Regions from separate parts of the Homo sapiens genome. Here region 2 is linked to region 1. Evidence: promoter capture Hi-C in human tissues and cell types (Jung and others, 2019). All regions are on one chromosome and are shown on one strand. The core of a region is centred on a gene start or on the middle of the fragment in contact, and the rest is flanking DNA. Distances in the headings are between cores, read along the strand shown.

Region 1 (7,171 bases), core at 2,748-5,247:
ATCCCAGCTACTTGGGAGGCTGAGGCAAGAGGATCACTTGAACCCGGGAGGTGGAGGTTGCAGTGAGCCGAGACTGTGCCATTGCACTCCAGCCAGGGAACAAGAGTGAAACTCTGTCTCAAAAAAAAAAAAAAAAAGGCTTGAAAGCAGCATGGGAATGTCAAGCCTATTTAAATTGTTCAGGTTAAAATATTCAAGTTAAGAGTAATACTGAGAGAGAGGAGAGGGAAAAAGTGTGCAATAATGGTTTAATTCACCTGCATGAGTCAATCATATTTGGTAAGTGGGTGGAACTAGAAGTGAAGCAGTGAGCTGAAGACTGAGGGGAAAAAAAACAATAATAAAATTTAAGGGTCAACTCAAAGGTCAAATGAACAGAAGTGTCCCAACTTGTATTCCTGAAAAACAATTTACACAGTGATCTGCCAAGTGTCAAGCTTAATATGCCAGGTTGCCTCTGGTATCCTTATGAGGAAGCAGTGAAGGGCCCAACATTTCAGTGTTTTCAGTGGTAATTTCAAGCTCTGTAGCTCCAGCTCTTAGACAGTAGCACTAGAAAAAATACAAAAAGACAAGTGGGGCATCATACTCAGGCACTGCAGGCCACACCGCAGGTCTCACACGGCTGGCAAACTGCTTTCAAAACACACATTTCACATAGTAGTGATTTTGGTATCTTTGAACTACTGAGATTTTTCAGGTTTAAACTTAACATTATTCATCCTTACAGCCAGGATCTTCCCACTAAAAATAGAAATAAATGATATATACACACTGATGCTCCTTTGTATAAGGAATATAGCTAAAGTAAGAGGATATAGGCACATTAGCAAGAAAGCTCTGGGGAGAAGAAATCTTAGCAGTTTTAATGAAAGATCAAAAGACCAAAAAAAAAAAAAAAAAAGGCATATAGCATATACCTTCATAAAGCACCTACATTTCATCTTCATCGAAATGAATTTAGTCAAAAGGGTGACAGGGAAGAAAGAAACAAGTCAAATCCCAGCATGGCACAGTAAACCTCAGTTGTCTGCTATAAAGACAGGGAGGGACAGACTGGCACAAATGATCCTAACTATTGACATTTAAGGAATCTTTTGGATTTCTGCTTTTTGCTTTGGGGAGGGCAACAGATTTGCTGGAATAAACCACCTGCTGAAGAGGAGGGAGGTTCAGAATACACCAAATGATAGAAAAGAGAGAATGCAGGGCTAAAAAAAAGTCCACTGCAGATCATCGCCAGTTAACTGTGTTTCCCAGACAGAACTGAACTCATTCTAATTTGGCTTACAGGAAGAAGTCTGACACTGGCAAATAAACGTCATTTGTGATAAGACTGGGGCTTCAATGATCCAGTTCTGGATAACTGACACTCTATTAACCCAATTATGTGCTACCCATGGATTCAAAAGGACCTACTGGCTCTGCCTGGGTCCACGCAGCTCCTGGACCCTTGGCCCTAGGTGCTCTAGTTCAACAATTAGTCACAAGGAAGAAAAGGCAAAGGAAAGTGGTGACTCTGCAAATCCTCTGAAGGCACTTCACGGTGTGAAGGAACAGCATCAACCTTGGTCAAGTAGATGCAATGCTCACTTGGCATTCCAGCTGTTCCTCAATGAGGCCAAAGCCAAGAAGCAAAGAAATTTACAAGTGGCCGACGCGCAAGTGCGCGCGCCCACACACACACACACACACACACACAATGTGAACAATAATAAAATACCAAAACTAGGTAAATTTTTTCAAATACCAACATTATTGGAGAAAGAGGCCAAGGGACCGTCAACAGAAATAGGGAGCTAGCCCAGGACGTCAGTAGCAGAGGTGGTTTGAAGGAAAACAAGGTGATGGAAGAAAAAGAACTAACCACTGAGTTGCCTGGCAGCTTGCAATGGAAGTGGCGGTGGGGAGATGACCCTAAAGCTAAAAGCAACATAGCAACACCATAGACTGCATAAGACCAATCTATACAGGAGGGTTGCTGGGTTTGAGGTGTGGGAAATGAACTTAAAAATACCAGATCCAGGATGGGCACGGTGGCTCAGGCCTGTAATCCCAGCACCTTAGGAGGCCAAGGTGGGCGGGTCACGAGGACAGGAGTTCAAGACCGGCCTGACCAACCTGGTGAAACCCCGTCTCTAATAAAAATACAAAAATTAGCCGGGCGTGGTAGCGGGTGCCTGTAATCCCAGCTACTCAGGAGGCTGAGGCAGGAGAATTGCTTGAACTCGGGAGGCAGAGGTTGCAGTGAGCCAAGATCGCGCCACTGCACTCCAGCCTGGGTGACAGAGTGAGACTCTATTAAAAAAAAAAAAAAATTTGTTGGGTGTGGTGGCATGTTCCTGTGGTCCCAGCTACTTGGGAGGCTGAGGTAAGAGGATCACTTGAGCCTGGGCGGCAAGGGGTAGCAGTGAGCAGAGATTGCGCCACTGCACTCCAGCCTGCGTGACAAAGTGAGACCCCGTCTCAAAAAAATAAAAAACAAAAAAAACCCCAAAAGACCCACAAACAAACCCCATAGGCAAGCACAATTTTCATAAAATCATTAATAGTTTTCCAAAGCAAAACAGTAAATACCTAAACAACTAAAATTGAGGGTTATAAAAGACACCACAAAAAAAAAACCTCACATAGGGAAACATTTTAGAAGATTCTAGGCTTTATCACTCTCGGTTTTTCTACCTGAAGTTAAAAGCTGTGTATAAAATACAAAGTCAATATTTGATGACAGTTACCTCTGATTCTACTGTGTCTTGTCCTTCTTTTGAACTTTTTCCACTCTTCCCTGCTTTTGGTGATTCCTGGTAAACATCAAGCAAAGTCAATTAGTCTTCTCACTTTTTAGACAGGTAAACATCAGATAAGCCAAATGCAGTTTTAAAAGTGATTTATACAACTACAGCTTCTGATATTTTTAATTCATACCATTAGGAAATTCTATATCATACCGTTTAGGATTCCAACAGTGCAATGCCCCCCAACCCCCATTCAGATTCTTTTCGTTTTATCTGCATTTGAGGTTGAAAACTTCAAGCAGAAAACAGATAAATCCAATTTTATACAGTGCTTCTGGCATTTTGAGATCCACATCACATCCCTTTCTACCCTCCCACCCTAAACCCTATGAGTGAGGATTTCTGGGGTGATAATGAAACGCTACAGAGCTCCACCTGAAGCAGAAACATACCCGCCCCCCCGAATGCAAACGCAGCACCCTTGCTCGCAGCCCTCACCGCCGCCGCCACCCAGGATAATAATAGTGTTCGAGAGCCCCAGAGCGTCCCTCCGGGGCGGCAGAGAATTCCTTACCAGCTCTCAGCGGGGTCCCTTCTCGCTCCCTTTCCCCCGTACAGGGGTCCCTCCCCAGGCGTCTACAGCCCCCATCCCTGAAGCTCCTTTCCGGGAGCCTGCGAGGCTGCGAACCCCCTCGGCGGCCGCACCTGCCCGCCCAAGCCCACGGCGCGCTGTCGGAAACGGGCGCCCCTCCGACCCCCTCCCCGGGCCGCGCCCTCCCTCCACGCCCAGCCCCGGCCCATCACGAAGGTCCCAGCGGCCCGGGCCTGCGCCCCGCGGCTCCGGCGCGATCCCCGGGCTCCCCGCCCCCACCGGGCATGAGGCCGAGAGAAGCCCGGGGATGCCTGGCTCGGCCGCCCTCGGGGACGCGAAGCCCGCGGCGTCAGGCGGGGAACTGAGCCGGGGCCCGGGCGCAGGACCCCGGTGCCGTCGCGCCCTCCCCCGGCAGTCCCTCCCTGCTCCCTCCGTCCCGCGGCCGGGCCCGGACTCACTTTCTCCTTCTTGTTTTTATTCGGCATGGCTGGAGCGGGCCGCCGCCGCCGCCGCCGCCCCTGCCGCCGCCTGCCCCCGCAGCAGCAGCGCCCCCGCCCCGGCCGTCGCGCCCCCGCGGCCGCCGCCGCCGCCGCCGCCCGGGGACTGAGTCTTTCGCTTGCTCTCGCTTCCCCTTTTCCAGACTCCCAGAGGCTGCGGCAGCCACGGCGGCGGCGGCGGCGGCGGCGGCGGCAGCGGCGGCGTCTCTCCGCCCCTCCCCCGGCCGGCCCGCCCCGCCCCTCTCCTCCCACCCCCCGGCCGGCCGCCCCGCCCCGCCCGCCGCTCGCCCCACCCCCGCGCCCGGCCCCGCCCCGCTGCACTCAACAGCGCCCTGCCATTGGTCGACGCGCCCCCACGTACCCTAACGCTCCCCGCTCCCCCCACCCTCTCCGCGCGACCCGTTCACGCCCCCGCCCTCCGTCCCGAGTCGCTGCGAGCCGGCCTCAGGCAGGCCGCGGCCTCCTGGCGCGGGGCTGACCGCTGAGCAGAGCTGAGCCGACTCAGGGGAGGGAGCATGTGGCTGCGACTGCGGTGACAGGGCCGTGGCCCGCTGTGGAGGCGCAAGACAGAGCGTGAGACGTAGGAAATGCACATTTGAAATGTATGGCAACAACTTCTGCAGCCGGCGAAACGCGAACCGTGGCCTCTTGGCCTTGCCCCCTCACCGCCGCGGCTCTCGTTGCAGTCAAGAGTGCCTGGCACGCTTTGCACTGAGGCGCACGGGGAGGCCCGGGAACCGAGCGAGCGGCAGTTTCGCGGGACACCGCTGGGCCCCGCCTCCCCTCCCTTCCCTCCCCTCCCCTTCCCTCCTCTCCCTCCACTCCCCTCCCCTCCGTCCCCTCCCCTCGACCACCCCGTCCCCTGCCCTCCCCTTCTCTCGACCAGCCCGTCCCCTGCCCTCCCCTCCCCTCCCCTCGACCAGCCCGTCCCCTCCCCTCCTCTTCCCTCGGCCAGCCCCTCCCCTCGGCCAGCCCTTCCCCTCGACCAACCCCTCTCCTCGACCGGCCCCTCCCCTCGACCGGCCCCTCCCCTTGGCCGGGCCCTCCCCTTGACCGGCCCCTCCCCTCGACCGGCCCCTCCCCTCGGCCGGCCCCTTCCCTCGGCCAGCCCCTCCCCTCGACCAGCCCCTCCCCTCGACCAGCCCCTCCCCTCACCAGCTCAGCTTTCCGCAGCTCCTCCCGCGAGGTCCCGCCCATCCGACAGCCCGCCCCTCCCTGGTTGGTCCCGCCCTCCGCAGTTTCTCCCGCAAGGTCCCGCCTACCCGACAGTCCCGTCCTTTCCTGGTTGGTCCCGCCCTCCGCAGCTTTTGCCGCGAGGTCCCACCCACCCGACAGCCCCGCCCCTCTCCAGTCGGCCCCGCCCTCCGCAGCTCCTTCCGCGAGGTCACGCCCACATGCGCAGCCCCTCTCCTCCGGCGTCGGCCCCGCCCACCGAGGCGAGGCCTCAAAGACTTGGTGGCCGCTGCGCCAATAGGATTTTATTTTTATTCTTTAATTTGGCTTGATCATAAATGGTGAGGAAACCTCTGCATGACTGGGAGTCACCTGATTTCTCTCAGCTTGTTAATAGCTGTGAGGAGAGGGTGTCCAAGGGAAAAACGTTAACTTTTCAATACAATACTTCCGCGGTCCACCTCGTGCCCAAAACTATTGAAGACGCTAAGGACAGGCGTCCCAGATTGCAGAAATGCATTAGGTAGTAAGACTCTAGGAGCGTACGGATTTCACGTGCGAGAGGCATTGGTGCTTCACCTGTGATGATGAAGGAGCTGCATCTTAACTGGCAGCTTAAAAATCATCGCGTTCTCTTAGCCCCCGGAGTTTTGTTCTTGGAAGTTTCCAGGCAAAGCATTTTCCATTATTCTCAGCAGTTCTGCAATGAGAAAGCTGAAAGACGGGGTAAGAAAAAAAAGATCTAAAGGGAGGAATGTTGTGGGAGGTCCAGAAAGTAAGTTCTGTCTGCGGGTATCTGAATGTCTGCCGGCTCTTAGACGAATATCTGTAGGTAAGCAGGACAGTCTCAACTATTTGTGCGGAATAAGTGGCTTTTTTATTAATAATTTAAGTGGGTTAATGGTGTCTCCAAAACAATTTTGAGGATAGAGCGATGCCCCTAGTTAACTTAATAACATTTTAAAAATAAAATATGTGCTGTCAATTTAATAAGTCCAGGATATATCCATATCAAAAAGGAGTAGCTCTGAAACTATTGGTTTATGGCCATGAACTCTTAGGGAGGCTTAGAGGCATCTCTGAGACAATCCTTTGCCACCCAAATCCTTGTATCATATCTCCTGATCCGGTGTTGCATACAATTCATTCATTCGACCCACATTTGTTGGATAACTACTATGTGCAAAGCATGATGCCAGAAATTTCATGGTGAACAAGGCACTACCCTTGTCCTCAAGCAGTTCACATGCTTGCATGGAAATAGAAAAAACCAGCAATCAGAAGGACATGACATGTGACAAGTCTACAGGACTGGGGTGAGGGGGGTCAGGCTTGGAAGCATGACAGAGCACTGCACAGGACGTTTTGTTATGGCCGGAGATGAGACTGAAGGAACAGCGACGCTGAATTAAGACTGGTAGACCTTGCCAAGATATTGTACTTCTTTTTGAATGCATTTCAGGGTCACTGACAGATACTGAAGTGGGGAGTGATGTACTCACATTTGCATTTTAGAAGACATCGGTGGCAGGAGTGTGGAGGAGGTGAGGGTGGAAGTAAAAGCAGGAGGCAGAAAGAGCAATCAGCATCCAGCTATGGTTCAGGTGCGTGCCAGGGAGGCATCTCCACAGCAACGGGGGGAAGGATCGCCGACGCGACAGAGAGCCAGAATCGAGGATAAAAAGCGAATGCTCATGCTTGTAGTTTGGGCAACACAGTGAATGATGAGGAAGGGATGCAAGTGGAGGGCAGGTTTGCAAGGGAACAAGATTCCAGTTTGGGACACGTTGCTGTGTCCGCAAAATGTAGGTAGAGGTGTCCAAGATGGCAACTGGAAATATAGCATAGAGGACTAGTTGCATGTCAGGTTAGAGGTTTCTCAGGTCAGTTTAGAGTTTTAGGGAAAGCATAGGGACAGGGTACAAGCAAAGCTGCCTGATTAACATCCAGTGACCTTGAAACCATAGCAACCAGAGAAATCTGACTCAACACCATTACCTGTACAACTGCATGTGTACGTCACTGGCCATTGGACTGGCTTCATTTGCCCACATTAGGGAGGACCATCTTTAAGGACAGTTAGTTACCGACTACCCGTAGAACACACTGGGTTTCATGCAGTGTCTTAGGTGCTGTGGTATTTACAGGAACGCTAAAGATAGATATAGCTCCTG
Region 2 (7,171 bases), core at 2,015-4,514, 1.4 Mb after region 1:
GCCTGCCTCGGACCCACTGACGAGAATTGAAACTGGCTCAAGCTAATCACTACTAGATGAAGGTCAAATATAGGTGACGATTTATCAGATCTCAGGGTGGGGGAGGACATGCCATGCTCTAGAGCCATGGACAATTACAAAGGGAAAGGGCCAGAGACTTGACAGCGAAAAATGTCAGGTTTTCTCTGTTAAAAAAAAATACATGAAATACCAAAACTCAACATCACACAACACCCTGGGGGGGAAGAGGGTAAAATATGATGAAAGGTCAATATTGTAAGTACGTAAATTGCCCAGATAAGAGAAACGCTAAGACTACAGGAGATGAATGGACAAGAATCAGGATAACAAATGCTTGTTTAGAATGAACGAAGTGCCGGCCCGTTCTAAAAGAGCTGTACGTAAATGAACTCACTTGGTTCTCAAACAAGACACCATTAAATTAGCAGACATTTTCAAAAGGTAATAATTCTGCCGCTGTGGAGGGTGAGAAGACGCAGCCACTTTTACGCATAAATGATGGTGTGTGTCAGACACTGAGCGCTACACAGCCCCCAAAAAGAGCGGCACAGATCTGCACACTGGTGGGAAAAGATGTGCCGGACAGTGAGAAAACCAAGCTGGAGGACAGGATGGAGAGTGCAGTCTGCACACTAAACACAGAGACCTTGACCCTCTTCCCCAGCTCAGATGCCGGAAGGCTGGCAGCAGGCCAAGAGCCCACCCAGAGAAGACACCTCCCTGAGAAGCTGACCAGGCTCAAGGAAATACATAAAAATAATCACAAGTGGGTTCCTATGATGAGCGCCAGCCTGCTGCCTCATAACCCTACATCCGGCCCGCTGCAAACAAAGTCCCTTTGCCCCCACACAAGGGCGTGTGCATGCACACACACACACACACACACACACACACACACACAGCTTTTGGTCAGGTCAGCTTTTTAGGTCCTCCCTCCCTAATTGGAATGAGCAGCAGGAAATCTCTAACATGGAACACAGACACCAAAACAAAAAAAGACCAAAGGAGATAAGAAAGAGACAAACATTTCAGAAAACAGGAAAACTTTCAAAGAACTCAAAGAGCTAAGAAAAGACCTTGTAAATATACAATAAAAAACAATATGCTATATTAAAAAAAGGAACATTCAGAAAATAAGAAACAGCTCTTGGAATGTAAAAACATGACAGAACACTTCCCTGAATATATATTATTCTTCAATTTGAAAGTTTATGACAGCAGAAATACAAATTCAAAAAAAGCATTGAAAGATAGATAAAGTGGAAGAAATTCCCCAGAAAAATAAAACAGAAAGGCCAAGAAATAAAGAGGAGAAACCGAGACGCTCAATCCAGGGACATCCAGGATGCCCAAGCAATCAGAGTTGCAAAGTCAACGACCTTCAGCAGCAGCAGCCCCAGAGGGTGCCGCTCATCTCTGTATGGCCCTCGTTCTATGGGGGGGCCGAGCTCCCCAGTGCCCCAATCCTGGCGAGGAAAGGCAGGCCTGGAACAGCCCCACAAGCCCTGGCAAAGCAGAGTTCTAGGGCCGCTTTGGTTGTAGGTTTCTAAAGCCCTTCTGGTCCTCCCTGCATTTCAGCCAGTATCACAGTATTCCACGTAGAAGATCAAGGTACGCTGTCCTCTGCCAAGTTCAGGAAACTTCAGGAAGCCTGCCAGAGGGGAGGCCAGGTGAAGGCAGGCTTCCAGCTATCCTGGGCTGACACAGTTGGTCTCACTCACATGTACCTTCTGACTGCCCCTCAGGGCTTCTGTCCCCCGGCTTGCTCCACTCCCCCCAGTATATGAGGGGTCCGCATGAGAGCTGTGTTCATCTGGGAGAATAGACAAAAGAAAACACCTGACAAGAAACAGCAGAAGCTAGAAGGAAACCTTAAAAGGTTGGAATGACTTACCTAACCCTTCTCTTAAGAGGAAATAATACTAACAATCTGGGGGAGAAATGACCACCCTATGATTTTAAATGCAGGCTACAAAAACAAAGTACCTACCATATGATTAAAACTAGTTGATATATGTAGGGAAAAAAGACTAGAAGGAAACGCTGCTTGCAAAATGTTCATGGTCATTAGGCTTGAATGAAGGGTCTATGGTTTATCTTTTAATTTCTGCCATTTTCTTGCATTTTTTCCCAAAATTTTACCACTTTTATGATAAAACAAATTAAATCTAAAACAACTCATTTGGACACAGGCCATCACTGGGCATTAGACAAGCACCTTTAAGAGTCTACTGTCTCCGAGTTTTAAAAGCAACAAGAAATAATTTACTAGACTGTCTCGACTCCTAAGTGCGCCAATTTTGCAATCTGCATTTTTCAATTACATTAAAAGCATTTTTCCAAATTGCTCTATCCTTCCCTTAATGACATGGGATGAGAGTGAATGAGGCTTGCTTCTCGAGGACAGAGGCTGCACCTTCACACGGCTGTTTTCTTCCTGTCAGCTTCTGGCGAGCACAAGGCCCCGCCCTTGGTACACTGAACTGTTTAAGTTAAATGGAATGAAGTTATTAAAAAGCAGAAAACACAGCTTGGGTTCTGCTACACTTTCCTTTTCTTATTCCTCTTCAACCCAAGGTTTTTTCTGTAAGATACAAGATTGTAAGGCAACTGGAACTGGGAAATGTCTCATTTGTTGGCCTCAGAAATGTCGCGGCTTTCACATGGGGGAGGAGGAGTGTCAAAAAAACTTCACTTCCCACGAAGAGAAGATTCCAGCTCAGAATCTCATGGCTCTTCCCAGAGGCTCGGCAGCTCTGCTGCCAACCAGTCTAAAGCCCCACACTCCCAATCCTGGGGTAATTCAGATGATTCTGAAAGTCCTCTGGAAGGTGGGAAAGAAGAGAAGCAAATATAGTGTCCAGACTAGGAAGCATCCAAACACCTATTGTGTGTCCTCGGGCGTGTCTTCCCCTCTATGGGCCTCTATCAAATGAACCAGATGAACGCTATGCATGCACGCACATGCGCACACACACATCACCAATTCTCTCCTCACCTTCATCTAATTACCCTGGATGCACTGTTAATCATTCACTCCCCAAATACCAAAGGCCCACTACCACCACCCAAACCTCCTTCCCAGCTGCGCCTCTCATTGCCAATAGATTTGCCTCGTGCTTAGAATAAATTGCCAATCATCTGCATAATGCTCCACAACTCCTCACTCCACACATCAAATCATTTCTCAATCTCATTTTGTAAAATCCATCAAGAATAATTCTTTCAAAACTGAAATAAACCCTCACTCTGGCACTTAGAGCCATAAATCCCTTGTCTTTGAATGTGAAATAGATCACTTTCTACAAAGCACATCTAAGATATCTTAATGTAATCAGATTCACTAACAATGATAAATCAACAGGATCCTGTGATACATAAAAATGCAAATCCAAACCACCCCAGAAATCATCTCTTCTCTGTATGTCCCTTAACAGAACCACAAAATTTGGAAGCTGGGATAGAGCTTGGACACCACCTGGGTGAAGGGGATGCGCTTTTCCATCCCTTATTCTCAGAGGCAGGAGGGCAGCGTGAGTGGTGGTAGCTCTTTCTGCTCAGGCTCTGAGTCTGAAGCTTCCCTGCTTGCCTCTATCATTTACTAGCTGTGTGACCACGGACAAGTCTCTTGACCTCTCTGTGCCTCAATTTCCTCATCTGTAAAATGGGAATGAGGACAGAAGTGGCCTCTCAGGCCTGTAATGAAGAGGAGACGGAGCGTTTAGAACATGCCTAGTACATGGTAAGCACTCAGCAATGGCTAGCGCTCTCCATCCTCTCATCCATGCTTTAAATGTGACCACTTTGGGGACAGGGAACCAGCTCTCCAACACAGACCTGCCAAGTGTTCAGTACATGAAAAGGGAGTGCATGAATGGCTTGGCACAGACAATCCTCAAACTCTTTAGATTCTAAAAGTATTTATCTCAAGAACACTGAGATTGAAACGCTTTAAAAACGTGTGCATAGAGACAATGAAAAGATTCACAAAAAACAAGAGTTACAGTAAGTTGGAGGATTCTGGGTGATTTGTCTTTTCTACACTTTGTTTTATAACTAATCAAGACAGGTACAGGGGAATCAGAAACATGCTTCCTCAGCCTCTCCCTTGTCAGGCACTAGGCTGGATCTTCTCATTTCAGCTCTACAGCAACAACCTTAATTGGTGGCCATTTACCAATTATCCCCATTTTACCAGTGAGGAACTAGGGGATCAGAGAGGCTAAGTGATTTTCCCAAAGTCACACAGCTACCAAGCAGAAGATTTGGCATGGGAGCCAAGGAGTACAACAGTGGTACTGAAGGTTTGCCAATCTAATCAGGTCCCACTCTCACCACACACAAGGGCTTTAGCTAATGCCTGGGTGTAAATCAAAGCCCATCTTTTTCTTTTTTTTTCTGAGATGGAGTCTCGCTCTTTCACCCAGGCTGGAGTGCAGTGGTGCGATCTGGGCTCACTGCAAGCTCCGCCTCCTGGGTTCATGCCATTCTCCTGCCTCAGCCTCCCGAGCAGCTGGGACTACAGCCGCCCACCACCGCGCCCGGCTAATTTTTTGTATTTTTAGTAGAGACGGGGTTTCACCATGTTAGCCAAGATGGTCTCAATCTCCTGACCTCGTGATCCGCCTGCCTCGGCCTCCCAAAGTGCTGGGATTACAGGCATGAGCCACCGCGCCTGGCCTCAAAGCCCATCTTAACTGCATTAAGGCAGCAAAAAAAGACAATATTTATGTATAGCCATATTCACTGTAATACTGATTATTTTTTAAACAAAAGCAGGAAATTATAGGAAACAACATGGAAATGATGGAGCAAAGTATGAAACTTGAGACAGTTATAAAAATATATTTGGGGAAAAGTTTTTAATAAGGTAGAAAAATTCCCCTTACACGTTACAGAAGATTGGGCAGCAGAGGAAGAATTCAAAACTGCACATACTATGCAATAAGCCCAATTATGTAAACAGATAGGAATGTAGGGCCCCCGACCAGGGAGGCCCCTCATGTTAATGAGGCACTGACTTGGGGTTGGGAGTTATCAATGATTTCTGTTTCTCCTTCATACTTCATATTTCCTGCATCATTAAAGTTTTTCACAATAAGCATCTATTACATTCATGGTCAAAAATTAAAAGGTTTTTTTTCAAAGTATTTTAAGGAAGCTTGTTACTGAAAGAATTTCTAGAGCAAATTATTCTGTAAAGCAAATAAACAACATCTAATTCATATATTTTCTTTAAAAACCTTCTGTGTTTCAGAACTGCAGGTTTTCATACAGGTACAGAAGGTCCCTGGTGGGTCTTCTGTCACCCACCCAAAGGTCTTATTCCTTTGGGACTCCCTCTCAGTGCCTGGCAGAGGGTTCTGTACATGGGAGCATTCAATAACGGCTGGTTGTGTTTTTGGTTAACGCAGGCCACGTACATGTTTTCCTTCAAAAAAAGGCATCAAAGTCTGAATTTCTACCTTTACGTGCAGTGGGTGTTCAAACACGTTAAGCCAAAAGAGTTCACTGGGAGATGAAAAGAGTATATAAAAGGGTATCCGTGCTGGGATCACAGCTATGAAAAAAACAAGCACGTTCACAGACAAGGGGAGGAAGGGATCGTCAGGAAAGAGCAGCGGTGCAGAATTATGAGTCATTGTTTTATTTTACTTAATTTCTCTAGCTGTAAATTTTTCAAAACTAATAAAAGCATATTTTACAGCTCACAGAACATTTAGAACATATTAAAATAAGTATCTTTCCACTGTAATGTGTCCAGTTGAAATGTATGAATTCCGAAGCTACGTTTTAAGGATATGAAGGAACTGGCACTCCATGTTCTTTAGATTAATAAGTTGGACTGTGTTGTTTTTCTCCTGATCAGAAAGAAATCATTTTTCAGTAAATGTTACCTTGAATCAAGGATTCTTCCACATTCTAGAAGCTTGGATGAGCTGCTTATATTAAGTCTTACTGTGCACCCTAGTGGCGAATATGATTTATCCACTCAAAAGACAATCCCTTCCCAAAGGCTTGCGATAAAATCCAAAAAATTTGTTTTAATTTTTATCGATCACTTAACATGTACACAATTTTGTGCCAGATGCTGGGGAATATAAAAATGGGTTCTGGCTCAGGAAGCTTAAAGTCTAGTAGGTGAAGCTGATATGCTTCCATGGCTACTTACGTAAAATAAGACATGAGCACAAGTCAAGGAAAGGAGGAAATTCTTGGGGAAAAGCAGGAACTCGAGCACACACTAAGTGCCTGCTATGTGCCAGGCATTGCACTTGGTGATTCACAACTAATATCGTTTACTTTTCACAAAAACCCAGCGAGGCATGTTTAATTCTCTCCACTTTATAGATACTCAAATGAAGGCTCAGAAGTGAGGTAACTTGCCAGAGACCACGCAACCAAGGGGCTGGCCGTAGAGGAAGGACCCAAGCAGGTCTTGTCACCCAGCCCCCAAGCTCTTCCCTCCTTCCTGATCCAGCAGGGGCCCAGAAGACACTGGCAGATTTTAACCAAAAGGCAGGGGGAAAGCACCCTGGGAAGGGTGTACTGCTGCACCCGCCTCTTTGAGCTCATTCCATGCTGCACCCACCATTTCCTCTCCTCCAGGGACTGGGCTGCAGCCAGCCAGGACTCCTGCCTGTGCCCGAGGCCCTATCCCCACTCCAGACCCACCACCCACACCCACACACTGCCTTCCCCAGATCACCAGGTCCCCAAGATCTGCCATGCTGCCCCACCTCTGACACCAAGGAGGGAAAAGAACACCATGTGCCTCCCAGCCAGGCCACGCACAAACCTGGTGGCCCAGCAAGCCTGAGGCCTCAGCCGGGACTTCTGGCCACAGCTCCTGCCTGGCTCCCCGCCGGTTCCCAATCTGTCTTCCCATCCTGGCTCCTCCAGCCCCTGCCATACACTCTTCACACTGAAAAGTTGTTCAAAGTCAATTTGCCCAAAACCAATTTGCCAAATAACCCCATCACTGAAAACTGACAAATATCTTAAAACAGAGAGGGCCCTGGCCCACCATTTGTATCTATGGCTTATAAAAGCCCTAATGTTCACGACACCACAGTAAAAAAAGAGGGTCAGGAGATGCCAACCCTAGCAGCCATGCTGACCCTGGCCCAACCTCATGACAGCAAATGTG

The links. Contacts are between HindIII fragments. The study calls those that stand out against the background at their distance.
Region 2: a fragment that was not itself captured here is called in contact with the fragment with the promoter of PPP2R5C in region 1 in 1 of the 25 tissues and cell types used here (dorsolateral prefrontal cortex).

The regions. Positions count from the first base shown.
Region 1 is chr14:101,758,535-101,765,705 of GRCh38, reverse strand. PPP2R5C (protein phosphatase 2 regulatory subunit B'gamma) reads right to left here and starts at 3,997. Exons shown (of 16, transcript NM_001352913.2): 1 at 3,786-3,997; 2 at 2,736-2,801. The coding sequence starts at 3,812. LOC107984658 (a long non-coding RNA gene) reads right to left here and starts at 1,627. Exons shown (of 2, transcript XR_001750901.1): 1 at 1,420-1,627; 2 at 1-552. RefSeq lists silencers at 3,362-3,431, 3,482-3,701, 3,842-4,081, 4,092-4,251, 4,712-4,761 and 2 more. The HindIII fragment of the contact is 18,209 bases long and covers 1-7,171 here.
Region 2 is chr14:100,384,143-100,391,313 of GRCh38, reverse strand. The region is part of intron 2 of WDR25 (WD repeat domain 25); the gene reads right to left. Among named protein-coding and RNA genes, the nearest start is that of WDR25, 11 kb to the right of the region's middle. The HindIII fragment of the contact is 4,605 bases long and covers 962-5,566 here.